Linked DNA regions of Homo sapiens: region 2 is linked to region 1. The links are contacts of gene promoters, found by promoter capture Hi-C in blood cells and fetal thymus (Javierre and others, 2016). All regions are on one chromosome and are shown on one strand. Each heading gives the region's core, a stretch centred on a gene start or on the middle of the fragment in contact. The rest is flanking DNA. Distances are from core to core; before and after follow the strand shown. Region 1 has its middle 26 kb from the start of ZHX2-AS1. Region 2 holds the start of FAM83A-AS1 (FAM83A antisense RNA 1).

Evidence for each region. The method cuts DNA at HindIII sites, captures the fragments that hold promoters and counts their contacts. A CHiCAGO score of 5 or more calls a contact.
Region 2: a contact is called between the fragment with the promoter of FAM83A-AS1 here and a fragment that was not itself captured in region 1, in 8 of 17 cell types (total CD4 T cells, naive CD4 T cells, naive CD8 T cells and 5 more). The highest score is 9.0, in total CD4 T cells.

The regions. Positions count from the first base shown.
Region 1 is chr8:122,753,643-122,758,315 of GRCh38, reverse strand. No RefSeq gene overlaps it. Among named protein-coding and RNA genes, the nearest start is that of ZHX2-AS1, 26 kb to the left of the region's middle. RefSeq lists enhancers at 1-86, 892-1,186. The HindIII fragment of the contact is 7,858 bases long and covers 1-4,673 here.
Region 2 is chr8:123,199,875-123,204,547 of GRCh38, reverse strand. FAM83A-AS1 (FAM83A antisense RNA 1) reads left to right here and starts at 1,805. Exons shown (of 3, transcript NR_024479.1): 1 at 1,805-2,340; 2 at 2,566-2,904; 3 at 3,094-3,376. All of the region lies in intron 3 of FAM83A (family with sequence similarity 83 member A), which reads right to left. The HindIII fragment of the contact is 13,090 bases long and covers 1-4,673 here.

The DNA.
Region 1 (4,673 bases), core at 799-3,298:
CGGCCTTCTATTTATACACCGAACACTGGGCTTGCCTGGAGAGTGCCAACATTGCATCTGCAACACCATCAGCTTGTCTGTTACCTGGAGTCTGAAATCATCCTTTGCTGTTATTATCATAAAGAGTCCCAGAATGGTAGAATGGCAGAGCTGATGGCAAGATCACAACAGCCTCTTAAATCTTACCAATATCAGTTGTCATGACCATGTCCAATGCAGGAAACTTTGGTCCCAGTGCTTGAATTTGCTCCCTTTTTACTGTTATCTCTTGCTCAGTTTCTACAAAAGCCTCTTAGAAGTGGAACTTAGAAGTGGAACTACTGGAACTAAGCATGTGCTGCAATATTTTTTTTTTAAATCTGTTTTATGAGCAAGCAAGTTTTAGAACGTGGAGCTGACACACCATTTCTAAGATTCATAGTAACCACGAGAGTTGGACAATGACAATGCCTGGACAGGGCCTGGAGAAAAGCGAGTGGTGGAGAGCTCCTTTCTAGAAGGATTTGAGAGTCAGCCAAATGCATTATTCCCCCAACAGCTTCTTCTTCATCCTATGTGTTCAATACTCTCAGTCCTGTGGGTTAAGCCTTTGCTTAAGGCAGGCAGCATCATATGGTAGAATGAACCTGGGCTCCAAAATCAAACACATCTCAAGTCAGGTATCAGTTCTGCAATTTATAAGCTGTGTGACGAAGAAAAGTTACTTACCATTTCTGAGCCTCAGCATCTTCACCTGTAAAATGAGGCTAATACCTTCACTCAACTTATAGAGTGGTTGTGAGGATTACATAAACCTATCAATGTAAGCACACAATATACATTAGCTATTATATTAATATGTTAGCTATTATTATTATTAACTTCAAGGCCATAGAACCCCAAATGGCAAATGCTGACTGGACACAGAAGGATAAAAGCAATGCTCTGGGAAGGAGAAGGAGATGTGGTAAGGCTGGGACTCTAGTCCCAGCAGACTAGGGGTTGGTGTAAGGTCCCAGGAAGCCAGGGCAAGGGGTGAGAAGGTGATGCAATAATGCCAGAGATAACCTTTGTCGGTTTCCCAGTGTGGCCAGGGCCAGCTTGGTTAATGGTTAAGTGAGTGGCGCCTGCAACGGCATGGAAGGCCTTCTTGTGTACTTGGGACTAAACGTGGCTTGTGAAAAACATTCTCCCAATTAGCCGGGCATGGTGGCGGGCACCTGTAGTCCCAGCTACTCGGGAGGCTGAGACAGGAGAACCTCTTGAACCCAGGAGGCAGAGGTTGCAGTGAGCTGAGATCGTGCCGCTGCACTCCAGCCTGGGCAACAAGAGCGAAACTCCGTCTCAAAACAAAACAAACAAACAAACAAACAAACACACACAAACAAAAAAACATTCCCCCAGAGAGGAGGCTCCTCAGGTTGTCTCTGCTGGAAGGGCTGTGTAGAGTGTGATCAGGAACTCCCCTTCCACTGTGGAGAAGCTCTGACATCGTTGCCATTGTTGCTGCAGGCATTGTTGCCACTGTCCTCTCTCCACAGCAGCCACTAGCGTATGAAGTACCAGGTACTGTGCTAAGACATGCATTGACATGCATTTTCTCTTCCCAAGAATACCATGAGAGACATATTATTATCTTACTGTTAAGGAAACTGAGACTCAAAGAATTGAATTGCTTAAGGTCACACAATGACTAAGTGGTAGAGCTGGGATTTGAACCAGGTCTTGGTGTAACTCCAAATCAATATCTTTACTCACTACACTATAATGCATGTTACCATCACTATCACCTTCGTTACTGCCATCATCGCCACTGCCACCACCATTACTAGCACCACTACCGTGATCATCCTTATCATCAATTTCACAAAAAGCAAAATCACACACTGTGTGTCATCTCTTTTAATATTCACAACATGATAAATATGATTACATCATCTCGATCTTGTATGTGGATTAAATGAGTTATTACATGCAAGTGTTTAGAGCAGTAACTGGTACATACTAAGCTCTTAATGAGTCTTGTTTATTATTATTATTAACAACTTGATACTACCCAGTTCAGATCCACTGATGAAGTCACTGGGGCCTTAACCTGGGCCAAAGCTCCCCTCTGGGGCTCTACGACAAGGAGGAGTGTGATCCTTGAATGTCTCACCACTGCCCACCTGTAATGTGACCCACGTGGCCTCTGACTCCTGGGCTGCTGAAGAGGTGTGCAGGAGTTGGCCCCAATGACACTGCACCCATGAGACTAATGTTTGAGATGAACAACCTCTCTGCCTGTATAAGAAGCCTTTGCACAGGGCCCTAAGGTGAGGCTAGGAAGGTGGAACCCCATAAAGTCCTGCTCCCAGGTGCCACTTTGGGCAGGTTTTGTGTTCCTGGCTGGTTCTCCTTTAGGTTGTTTTTGTCATACCTGGGGTGCCCCAGTTCTGCTTCTGGGAGTGCGTGGCTCATGCACCTGGGGCTTCTCTTCTCCCATCAGTTTCTTTCTCTATTCCTCTCCCCTTCGGGTCATCCATACTTTACTTACCCCACGGCTGCTCTTCTAGGAGTTTTATTTTTTTACAAATAATACCTGCGGCTTTTATTTCAGTGATGCTTTGCCTCACTTGTTCAGAGTCCAGATTTTTCAAAACTTGCTAGGTATCTGACTGGAAAACCTGGCAAATTTTTGGTCTTGAGTACTGTGACTGTAACTTTCCCAGTACCATACAGCTGCAAAGATGTGTGTGTGGCAGTGGGGTGGGGTGGGGAGGCCAGGGCAAGTCCCAGGTCTGGCTGGACTTAGATCCCTCCGTGAACACTTACCCATTCTGGGGGTGACCCTGCCCCAGAATTCATGGGGTACTACCTGGTGGCTTAGATGGGCTGTGTGTCTCACATTCCACAGCCAGCGATTCTTCTCATATAAAGTCACATGGAGGAAGCCCTGAGACCCCAACTCTGGGTTTTTCTGATTCCTGGACATGCAGCCTCAAAGAAGACATTGTAAAGACACACACACAAAAGGTAGACATTAAAGCAAGATGGAAGTATGTTGGAGGCAGAGATGGGGTACATGCTCATTGCCTGCATGCTATTTTGCACACGTGTGTGTGTGTTTGTGTCACTCCAAGAAACCATGGGTATACAGTGTTTTGAGTAGGCCAGAGTTTTACAGCTGGACAGACCTAGAGTCTAGTTCTGCCCACGCCAACCCCCATCCCTTCCCATCGTTAACTGTGTGGGAAACAGAATAAGGGTAGTTATAAGTGTGGGTTCAGGAATTTAGTTTGCCTGGGTTCAAATTGTGCTTGCATTGCTTATATCAATGAAATCTTAGGCAAATTGTTTGGTCTCTCTCATCCTCAGTTTCCTCACCTGTAAAATGGAGATGATAATTATACTGACCTATATGGCTGTTGTGACAATCCAGTGAGATAAATATGTTTCAAGTACTTATCTCAGGGCCTGCAGTGTAAACTTGAATGAATCACAGTTGCTAGTTTCTATGCACATCTTATGAGGCCGTTAACTGTTCATAGTCCCTCTCTTTCTTCTGTAACTGTGTCTGAGAAGGGAGACTGAGAGGCCTCTGACCTGCTTAACTTCACCTTGCCACTCCGCTGATCTGATCCGAAGATATGTCACTTGCCTGTCAGAGTCCTGTGAACAGAGGACAAAATTCTTGGCACTATTTGTCCAGCCTCTTAGTGGAGATGTCAGCCACATTGCTGCTGCTTTTCCTCGCTTTCTTGGCTTCATAATTTCTGATCTAATAACTTGGCCCATTGACCTCAAATTTTGCTGTGAGAGTGGGTTTAGCAGGCTTTTCCCAGCTGCATCCTTTGCTGGAGATGTTCTCGGGCCAGGAAAGTTCTTTATTCTCTTCTCTAATGCAAGGCAGATGCCATCCACCTAAAGGATGTGAGAAAGAGACTTCGCAGTTGGGTTTCTCTTGTTCTATTGTGTGTTCAATAGTTGCTGAGGACATTGGCCATCCCTTGAGGGTCTCAGTTTAACTTATGGCACCTGAAAAGGTTTGGCTCTGTGTCCCCAACCAAATCTCGTTGTAGCTCCCATAATCCCCACGTGTTGTGGGAGGGACCCAGTGGGAGATGATTGAATCATGGGGGTGGATCTTTCCCATGTTGTTCTCTGACAGTGAATGAGTCTCACGAGATCTGATGGTTTTAAAAATGGCAGTCTCCCTGCATAAGCTCTCTCTTTTTGCCTGCTGCCATCCACGTAAGACGTGAATTGCTCCTCCTTGCCTTCAGCCACAATTGTGAGGCTTCCCCAGCCACATGGAACTGTTAGTCCAATTAAACCTCTTTCTTTTGTAAATTGCCCAGTCTTGGGGATATCTGCATCAGTAGTGTGAAAATGGACTAATACAGTGCCTAATGCTCCTGCATCCACAGGCGAGTTGGTGCAGGTGGGAGTGGGGTGGTTGGGGGTGCATTAGATCCATAGGACCTGAAGGAGCTCTCTGAAAAAGGGGCTCAGCACATGGCTCCAGGTGTGGATGGCAGGATTCCTCTCTTCTTCACTCAGACCTTCAAGGAAGAGAGGGAAAGGTGGAAGAAACTGAGAGACTCCTTGCTTCTCCAACACCAGGGGTGGATGGAACACAGGGAATACTCAGATGCCATTCTCTGCCCACCTTACCAATGGGACTGTGAGTGTAGTCATCAGGTGGTTCCACC
Region 2 (4,673 bases), core at 556-3,055, 450 kb before region 1:
CTCGTGATCCACCCGCCTCGGCCTCCCAAAGTGGTGGGATTACAGGCGTGAGCCACTGCGCCCGGCCAATACATTTTATTTCTATTGTTGTTTGGCCCATAAGTACGTAGCATTCACTTAATCATCTTTGGCTCATGACCAAACTCTACTCATTGGTCTATTCATCACCCATTTTCACTTATTTAACTATTTAATTGGTGATTTTAAGTAATATAGTAAGCACTTATGAACCCACTACCTAAAAGAAAAGGTCACATCTTTTTTAAAAATTTTTTCTCTTAAAAAAATTTTTTTGGGGGCAGAGATGGGATCTTGCTATGTTGCCCAGACTGGTCTTGAACTCCTGGCTTCAAGTGATCCTCCCTGCTTGGCCTCCCGAAGTGCTGAGATTACAGGCATGAGCCACCACACCTGGCCAAGGTAGCATCTTGAGGATAGTCCACATCTAGCCATAGGGTCCCTTCTTGCATCCCTTTCCCAGGACCCCTGAACTAGAACTCAGCACATCATGAATCCTGTGATCATAACGCCCTTGCTTTCCTTTTTCCATAATTATAGAATTTTTTTTTGTCCTTTTTTTTTTTTTTTTTGAGTTGGAGTTTCACTCTTGTTGCCCAGGCTGGAGTGCAGTGGCGTGATCTCGGCTCACTGCAACCTCTGCCTCCTGGGTTCAAGCGCTTCTTCTGCCTCAGCCTCCTAAGTAACTGGGGTTACAACAATGCTGGCTAATTTTTTGTTTTGTTTTTTTAACCATATGTTGCCTCTTTGGTGAAACGCCTGCTTATGTCTCCCACCCACTTTTCTGCTGTGCTCTTGTGCTCTTGTGAGTCTCAGCACTAATCTCTGTCAGGGGTGTGCATCTTGAATAGCTGCTTCCAGTTTGTAACTGACTTTTCACTTCCTTTAAGATGTCTTTCTTTTTTTCTTTTCTTTTCTTACTTTTTTTTTTTTTTTTTTTTTTGAGACAGATCTCATTCTGTCCCCCAGGCTGGAGTGCAGTGGCTTGATCTCAGCTCACTGCAACCTCTGCCTCCTGGATTCAAGTGATCCTCCCACCTCAGCCTCCCGAGTAGTTGGGACTACAGGCACGTGCCACCACACTCGGCTAATTTTTGTATTTTTAGTAGAGACAGGATTTTACCATGTTGGCCAGGCTGGTCTTGAACTCTTGACCTCAGGTGATCCACCTTCCTCTGCCTCCCAAGGTGCTGGGATTACAGATGTGAACCACCGCACCCAGCCAAGATGTCTTTCAATGAACCAACATTCTTAATTGTAATATAGTCAGATTAAGCAAACTTTTATGGTCACTGCTTTTTTTTTTTTAATGTGTGTATGTTTTCCTTTTAAAGAAATCTACTGAGAGTTTTAGTTTATTTTCAACATTCAAATTCTTTTCAACTATTGCAAGTCGATTTGTAAACAAATGCGTGCATGGTGGGTAGTAATCCCATTTTACATACGGGGAGTTATTTTTTCCAGTTCCTCCTTTCCCCACTGCTCTGTCATGCCCTGTGGTGTGTGAATATGTGCCTGAGCTTTCTGTTCTGTGTGTCAATTTGTCCCTCCTCCAATGACACATTGTCTTGATTACTGCAGTTTCATGACAAGTTCTGAACTCTGGTAGGGCAAGTCGTCCCTGCTTGTTTTTCTTTTTCGGATTTATCTTGGCTATTCTTGGAAAAGCACATTTAACATCATGACCCACAAGTACATAACCACACAATAATTTCCAGAACATCCTTTACCTCAGCGTGGTCTGATTATTTTTATTCTATTCCGTGTCATTTAAAAAAAATGCTAGACATCATCTACTAAATTGATTTCACACCCCGCTAATGGATGGTGAGGCACAGTTTGAAAAACTGCATTCTTTCAGGACACTGAATGGTCAGAACCCAATGTGCTTTTATTCATTCATTCAACAAATATTTGTGGCCATGTATAATGTATCAGGTGCTGTATTTACTGTACTTCATGCCAGGAAAGCAACAGAGAAGAAAACATACCCAGTCCAGTCCCTGACCTCATGTCATTTACAATCTCGGCTAATCAAGTTCACAAATAAATAATTCCAAATCATGATGGGAGTGAAGCCATAGAGGATAAGAGGGCTCGGGGTGGTGATCAGAGGTCTCTGAGGCAATGATCTGGAAGCTGCCACCTACAAGATAAAGAGTAAGCAAGATAGAGACAGCAGGAATGAGCTCTCCGACGGAGGGCATGAACAGCAAGTGCAAAGGCCCTGCGACTCGAAAGAGCATGAAAGACTGAGGAAGCGGCCAGTGTGGCTCCAACACAGTGGAGGAGTGGGGGGATCCTACTGAGATAGAGGCCCTGGTAAGGATGTAGATTTTTGTTGTTGTTGTTGTTCCTAGGAGCAGTGGCGAGTACTGAAGGATTTTAAAGTGGTTTGATCTGGTTTGTGTTTCTGTTCCTGGGAGAGAAAACCCATGGATGGCAGTGGGGGCGGGGCAGGAGGCCAATTAGAAGCCAGGATGATGTCTTGCTGTTGTTCCCCATCCTGTTCCCAATGCCCAATTTTGCCTGCCTCTTCCCCACCAGGGCTGAATAATTCTCATCCTTCAAGGCCCAACTCCAGCCAATGGCACCGACCTCCTGGACCTGCTAGGCAGAAGTGGTGGCTCCCTCTCAGCTGACCCCAGAGCACTTCCTTAGCTCCTGCTGATCTCAGAGCACACACACCAATCCACTCTGGCCACTCAGCAATTTTTCTTGATGGCCCTGGCATGGCACCTATGCTGGGGTCAGACCCTCAACCAGCCCTTCAGTGTTGAAATGCACAACCTCAGCCCTCTAGCCTCAGCGGAGGAAGCAGGGCTCTTCAGTTTGGGAGAACCATATACAACCAGAAGAAGGGGCCAAAATATCTGAAGCCCCCAGGTAGCGGGGCTAAAAGAAAGGGATAAATGGCCTCTTCTGGTTTTTTTTCTTTGTTTGTTTTTGTTTTTACTGGAAACAACTCTAAGGGGAGACTGGTCCCAGTGAAGATGATCCCCTGAAAGGCTAGTAAGCAGGTCACCTTTGAATGTCAAGGGCAAAATCACTGTTGGTGTCCTGTTCTCCCTCCAGGAGCTGGCTCCTCCACAGCTCTCAGGAATGACAGTAAACACAGACGGCCCTGCATGTATTCCGGCTGTGGCAGCCTTCCTCCTGGGCTGCACATCAGGCTAACAAGCCCAGCCCTCAGCTTCACAGGGATTGGAGAGCTGGTGACCCTAGTCAAGGAAGCTGGTGACCCTGGATCAGTTGCCTCCCCTCTCTGTGCCTAAATCCCCCACCCCACTTCTGTCAATTAGGAGGATGATGCCTTCTTCAAAGTGTTGTCATAAAGATTAAATCCTTATTAAAGTCTGTTTTTGTTTTTGTTTCTGTTTTTTTTTGAGACAGTCTCACTCTGTCGCCCAGGCTGGAGTGCATCTTGGCTCACTACAACTTCCACCTCCCAGGTTCAAGTAATTCTCCTGCCTCACCCTCCCTAGTAGCCAAGATGACAGGCACGTGCCACCACACCAGCTAATTTTTTTTTTGTATATATGTGTATATATATATATATATTTTTTTTTTTTGTTTATTTGTTTGAGACAGAGTCTTGCTCTGTCACCTAGGCTAGAGTGGATCTCGGCTCACTGCAACCTCTGCCTCCCAGGTTCAAGCAATTCTACTGCCTCAGCCTCCCAAGTAGCTGGAATTACAGGCACCCACCACCACATCTGGCTAATTTTTTGTATTTTTAGTAGAGACAGGGTTTTGCCATGTTGGCCAGGCTGGCCTCGAACTCCTGACCTCAGGTGATTCACCCGCCTCGGCCTCCCAAAGTGCTGGGATTACAGGTGTGAGCCATCGCGCCCCTCCTGATTTTTTATATTTTTAGTAGAGATGGGGTTTCACCATGTTGACCTGGCTGGTCTCAAACTCCTGACCTCAAGTGACCCACCCCGCTCAGCCTCCCAAAGTGTTGGGATTACAGGCATGAGCCGCCACACCTGGCCCTTATTAAAGTTCTGATCACACCTGGCCCAGTCCCTGACATCCTTCAGCAATGTTAGTTCTGCTTCCTCCTGCCCCTGCCCAGGGCGAGGGCCCCCCAGCTGCGTGATGGACTCTGGAAGGGCAAGTGCAAATTAAAGATGAGATGCTTAATTCTTCCCACTGAAAATAAGGGAAGAGACCTTCCCCTTCTTCCTTTTCTACTTCAAAAATTTTAGCTGTATGTAAATCACACTCCATCCTCCGGTGTTCTGGAAGAAGGTGGGCCTGACTGCAGCTGTCCTCTGACTCCACAAGCAGAACCTCCCTACTGTAATGGGTTGGATCCACTTTGCTATATGAAAGAGAGGTTTTGTTCTGCCTGCTGTCTCTGTAGTGAGTTGCCCATCATGTGCATCATATTCTGGTCCAATGCTTACTTGATAACACAATTGTTTTCCTTCACTTCTACTTTCGTAGGGAAGTTTTCTGAGAGAAGATTTTGTTTTTCATTTTAATTCCCCAGTAGCTCCCATAAGACAGGGAGAGATGAACTCCACTCCCATCTGTCTTGTGTGGAAATGGTTTCAGACTTCTCTGCTGGCTTCTTTAGTTGGAGAGTGGGCTGGGCAGCGGGGCTGAGAGCTGTTAAGGGTTGAGGGCTGGGGGAAGGCATGTTTTCC